Linked DNA regions of Homo sapiens: region 1 is linked to region 2. Evidence: promoter capture Hi-C in human tissues and cell types (Jung and others, 2019). All regions are on one chromosome and are shown on one strand. Each heading gives the region's core, a stretch centred on a gene start or on the middle of the fragment in contact. The rest is flanking DNA. Distances are from core to core; before and after follow the strand shown. Region 1 holds the start of GSTM5 (glutathione S-transferase mu 5). Region 2 overlaps CYB561D1 (cytochrome b561 family member D1).

The links. The method cuts DNA at HindIII sites, captures the fragments that hold promoters and counts their contacts. A contact is called where the count stands out against the background at its distance.
Region 1: the fragment with the promoter of GSTM5 here is called in contact with a fragment that was not itself captured in region 2 in 3 of the 25 tissues and cell types used here (lymphoblastoid cells, mesenchymal stem cells and small bowel).

Annotation. Positions count from the first base shown.
Region 1 is chr1:109,710,632-109,713,567 of GRCh38, reverse strand. It overlaps GSTM5 (glutathione S-transferase mu 5), which reads right to left and starts at 1,317. Exons shown (of 8, transcript NM_000851.4): 1 at 1,220-1,317; 2 at 875-950; 3 at 385-449; 4 at 3-84. The coding sequence starts at 1,255. The HindIII fragment of the contact is 7,760 bases long and covers 1-2,936 here.
Region 2 is chr1:109,499,931-109,502,698 of GRCh38, reverse strand. CYB561D1 (cytochrome b561 family member D1) reads right to left here. Exons shown (of 3, transcript NM_182580.3): 3 at 2,264-2,768. Among named protein-coding and RNA genes, the nearest start is that of CYB561D1, 7.2 kb to the right of the region's middle. RefSeq lists an enhancer at 2,711-2,768. The HindIII fragment of the contact is 8,294 bases long and covers 1-2,768 here.

The DNA.
Region 1 (2,936 bases), core at 68-2,567, 210 kb before region 2:
ACACAGGTTGTGCTTGCGGGCAATGTAGCGCAGGATGGCATTGCTCTGGGTGATCTTGTGAGCCCCATCAATCAAGTAGGGCAGCTGGATAGATGGGAAACCGGGGAAGCTCAGTTGGGCCACCAGGCTCCCCAGCATCCCCTTCCCATATGCAAGGGCAGAGAGGAGACCAGGGCCTGCTCATGGCAGGCCTGAGATAGAAATACTGTCACACTAATAAATGAGCTGGGACACAGAACATCATGCAAGGGCTGTGTAGACAGCCAAGAGTGAGAGGAATTGGGCAGAAGACTCCTGATCTTAACACCTCTAAGGTGGGGAGAGGAGATGCAGTCAGAGACACGTCGCACTTTCCCCCAAAACCGCCCCTTCCCCTGCACCTACATTGGGAAAGTCCAGGCCCAGCTTGAATTTTTCATTCAGCCACTGGCTTCTGTCATAGTCAGGAGCTGTGGTGGGGAAGAAGTGAAAACAAACCTCCCCAGAGCCCAGCCCTCCTTCCCGGGGACCCTCCCAAGGAGCCAGTGGCAAGATCCCTGAGACAGGTGGATCTAGAATCTGACCACTCAGTCCCACATCCCAGGGTTCAGGGAGAAAGAATCCCACTGAGGGCTCTGGACCCCACAACGGCTAAGGCTTCCAGGGTTTAGGGAAGCTCTGAGGGACACCCAACCCAATTAGACAGGGTGTCCAGCATCCCGCCCCAGCATTCTGCCTTGCAAGGCCAGAGGGCTCACTCACGGGAGCTCAGGGAAGGGACAGCCTGCAGCTCCAGCAGGGGAGGCCTGCAGAGGCAGCCACAGGTGGCCACCATGGGTTGCTTGGTGCCAACTCAGCGTGAGTGGGCAGGGCCCGGACACGAGGGTGCCATTACCGTCCCCCAGCGTGTACTTCTTTTCCACATAGCTTGAGTCTGTGTATTCCAGGAGCAAGCGGATGGCGTGGGCCAGCTGGGAGAGATGGCCCGCGGCTCGGGTCAGAGATGGAGGGTCCCTGACTTGGTGACTTTCTCTGCACCAGGCCAGCCCCTAGTCTATACTGCACGTACCCGTCGCCTCCTCTACCCGCCCCCACCCCCAAACACACACACAGCGTCATGCACAGGCCCTTCTGAGGCGGGCAGCCCTGAAGAGGAACGGTCCCTAGAGCCAGTCCTGCAGCTACTCCACACATCCCCGCCTCCGCCCCCTGTCCCACCCACCAGAGGACCCTCGCTTACCCCACGGATGTCCCAGTACCCCAGAGTCATGGGCATGGTGCTGGTTGGTGCGGATTCTGCAGACAGGCATCAGCGGAGCGGGGCTCAGACTTTGAGAGGCCCAGGAGGGGACAGGCGGGGCCTTGCTGCGACCCCGCCCCTCGGCCCGCCACAACCCCGAAACACGCCATTCTGTAGGCCCCCGAGCGAGCGCCCGGGGCTGGAATCAATAAGCCCCCTCCCGCCTCCCAGTCCCCAGGGTTCCGGGAGCGAGGTCAGGGCGCCCAGAAGCCCAAAGCGGGGCTCGGCCTCGCCAGCTTCCCCAACCCGCCCTGAGGCTCCATGAGTCCATCCAGCCCTTGCTAGGTCCACAGCGACTTGGCTGTGCGCTTGAGACACCAGCCAGATCCTAACGGAGCAAAGCTCTTCTCCCTTCTCCTCCCTGCCCGCAGAATCCCTCAGCCTTCTCTCCGCTGCCGAGTTCCCAAGGGCTCTGGGAGACTCCGGCTGCAGGGGTCAGACTAAAAAGTGGTGGTCCCAACCTGGGAATTTAATTCAGCCCCTGTCACTGTAAGAGCAGGACTTCCTCTGATCCGAAAGCTACTCCGAGGGCTTAGTCTCCCCTCTAGCCCCGCCTACACAGGAACAGTGTCAGTGGTATAGGAAGGACCCCCAGGAAAAGGGCCAGAGTAAAGGAAATGTGGTCTGTGTTTTCTGTTAGGGGCCTTTGGATACTGAGTCCTTCGGTCATCTGGCTAAGTACTATGTAAATTAGCCACTTCGTATTTTGGCACAATTTATGAATCGAAATCCAAGGATCAGATCCAGCAAGTTGGTGAGGTATCTGAGGTGCCCCCTAGAAATGTCCAGCCAGTCCACTAGGTGAACCTCACAGAGACCGGAACAGCAACAGCAACAGTGAGTGCAGTGGCCACAGAGAGCAGGCGAGGGAGGATGGAAGAACTTCCCGGACCAAACTGAGGGTCCGGCTGCTATTTCTCTAGGCCCAATAACGAGATGCAGATCAAATGGGGAGGAAGAGAGGTTTTATTTCTGCAACCAGTTACAGGGAGAAGGCCTGGAAATTACTACCAGACCAACTCAAAATTAAAGTTTTCCAGAGCATATATACCTTCTAAGGTATATGTCTACAAGTAAGTGTGCATTCATCTAAAGACATAAGTGATTAACTTCTTTAATCTGTAACTGAGGTCTGGGTCCTGAGGACCTTACTCTGGAGCCTCAGTCTATTTACTTAATCTAAATGGGTCCAGGTGCGGGGGATGATTGCCCTTATCTTGTCTCCTGCTAAATCATGGAGGTTTGGGGAGTTCCTTCAGATGCCCAGTAAACTTGTTTGTGGAGGCCTGGGGAGTTTCTTCAGACTCACAATAAAACTTGTTTAATTCTAAATAGGTCCTGTTAAGAATTCCTTCGTTGTTTTGTCATGCTTTAAGGCCCAGGAAAGGCCTAAGCAAAACTCTTGGTGGGCTTTTGTTACATCCAGCCTCTGTATAAAGGTACTGGCTTTTTTCAGCTTTTAATATTTAATTTCATCACTCAGTCAGTACTGAAACAGTTGTTATGGAGGCCTGTGTTAGTGACACCTGGTCTGCCACAGAACCTGTCCCTCAGAGAAGCCAGAACCCTGTCCTGCTGAGGAGGGAGGTCAGAGGATGGTGGCCAGAGAGGAGCCTGAGGGCTCCCCACAGGATCACAGGCAGGGACTCTCCCCTCT
Region 2 (2,768 bases), core at 90-2,589:
CCATACTCTGCATTTATATAGTTTTTCATCTGCAAAGCAGTTTTTCTATGGCTGACAATTTGGCTGACAGGATGAAGCTGATAAGGAGAGCAAGTCTGATGAGGACTACTTGGAGTTTGGAGTTCTCTCTTCTGTTTTGGCCTGTGCCAAGCCCAAGGAAGTCCATGGCTGCATCTCTTCAACACCCCCCACCCACCCACCACCCACATCCTCACCACCTCCCCCAAACCACAAGAAGTTCCTTAGATTCTGGCCAAGATGTGCAATTTTGTCTGCCATGCCTTGCAGCACTTACCCTGGCTCCTCTTAGGTAGCACTTGCGGGGAGGGAGGAGGCTAATATGACAGTTTTCTTTGAGAATAGGTAAGAGTTCAGTGCATTGGTTAACCTGGCCTCTCTTCCCCCCAGTCTCTCAACTCCTTCCCTTTCTGCATGCACTTCTTGCACCACTTATCTTGTATCTCCCAGGAAACCAGTGGGGAAGCTTCACTTTCTCCACCCACATAGCAGAAAAGGCTCAGGCCCCTGCAGTGGGACGGTTGGCTTTTCTGGTCTAGTCACAGTCAGCCTGTGCTGAATGCTTCCTCTCCTGGGGCTTGAGAGAGGAAGGCTAAAGCAGCTGCCAGTCAAGCCCCTTCATCAGGCTTCTACACTCTTAGGTGGAAAATGCAAAATGGTGAAGACACTTAGACCTGCCCTGACGCCTCCAATCTAGTCAGCTTGTTTACTCTCCCTGGTTGGAACCATGGCCTGAGAGAACCAACCTGCAGTGAGCCAGGACGTGGAGCCCTGCAGTGGGACTTCTGGATGCCCTTTGGCACTGGCATACATTAGGCAGGAGTCATTGCCTCCAAGGCTGGTGTATGCGTGCATGTGCGCACACATACAGGTTGGCAAGTACTGGAGTTGGATTGTACTTTGTGCTGCATTTCCCTTACCTCCCACTGCTCCCTCACTTGGTCATAGTTTGCTTTTGGGGGGCCTGAGCAGAACTGAGCATCCTTAGAAAGCACCATGAGATAACTGGGTATCTGCTTTAAAGATAGGGGTGCTAGGGGGCCACTCATGTATACTCAGTGAGACAGAGTTGGCTCCTCAGATGCCACTGAATAGCCTGAAGTCGTTCCTTAATCTGCTTCCAACAGAGGTTAAAAACTCATCTGGGAAATCCTAGCAATAGCAGGATTATAAACTGAGATTGTTATTCTGTGATGCATCTGGTGACTAGCTGAGTCTCCTGAGTGGGTGGGTAGGGGGAAGGTCCCCTCACTGGAGGTAATTTCTGCCTACATGAAGGGGTTAAGCCCAGCGCCATGCTGGAGACGGGCTACTTCAAACCACCCTCCAGGGCAGTTCTGCCTTTCAGCTTGTCGTCTTTGTGCAGTGCTGGTGAGAACTGCTGAGGCTCTGCACACAATGCCTGACTAGTGTTTCATTCCTGGATCCCAGGACAGAAAAAGCAATTAAGATAAAAAACGAATATTCAAGCCTCTGCACTGCTGTTTTGCTGTTCCTGCTTCTTTGCATCCACTCCAGGCAGACTGCTGCTGCTCTCAGACAAATGGAATGGAAAGTATTCTTCCCCAATTTAAAACTTAAACAGAACTGCTTTCAGTGTGTGTGTGTGCGTGTGTGTGTGTGTGTATGTGAATGCCAATAAAGCACTTGGAGGAGGAGGGGACTGATCCTATTCCACGAGCCTGAAATGGGGAAAGGGAAACCAGGCTGTGGACCCTGGGAAGCCAGGGGTCCCTGCTCTGCATCTCCAATGCCTGAGGCAGGTGTTGCTCATTCTGTGGCTTCGGTAAACAGAGGGTCTGTGGCGATGCTGTTTGCTCCAGTTGCTCCTCCCTTCCTAGCTTGTCTGCTCCACTTTTCCCTCAGAAGGGCAGAATTAGGAGAGATTTAGATAGACTTGTGACCTGCAGCTCCCTACGAAGACCAGCTCCAGGAACTTCAGGCTGGACCTAGGGAGGAATTGTACTGACTCCGAGATCTGCAGTCTGCCCTGTGATTTGGGAACACCAGGTAGGCAGCACTTACGGCAAACTTCACTAGTCATGGCCGTGGTGGCATTTCTGGCAGGAGTTGGTAAGAGCTGACCTTGCATCTGGAAGGAAGAAATGTGTCCATGTTTTCTTATGATGGCCAGAACAACTCTCTGAGACTTAGATCCCCTGTCATTATCCATAACTGTTTATTGCCTAAGAAGCATAAAGCCCAAAGCCTGGCTCAGTGAAAGAGAAGGACAAGAACATAATAATACCACCTGTTTACATGTGTTTAATGCTTTGAATTTTCCAATTCCTATTAACATTCATTCTCTCATCAAACCCTCACAACATCCCTGTGAGGTAGGTCAGGCAATAAGTGGTTTGCCCACAGCCACACCAGTGATAGGGACGGAGTAAACCCATACTGCAGGTTTCCCAGCCCCCAAGCTGATGCACCTTTCATTTCATGTTACACAGGATCTTTGTGCCAACCAGACACAGGAGCATCAAGAGCACTACCAGAAGCCTCCCTGCTCTCTGAGCTTGCAGAGGGGACCCAGAAATGCTGGGCTTGAGGCATCAAGACCAGGGGTGCCCCCTGTAGGCCAAGCCAGGTAAACAGAAGGAAGGGCAGGAGTACTGGAAGTTCAGGCTCAACAGCCACCCCTGCCACCACCATAGGTCTCAGCCTAGCATACACTGTGTTCCCTACATATCTTGACCTTTGTCAGGTGCAAGTCTTATTAGTTTACTGAGAGGACTCAGTGCCCACTC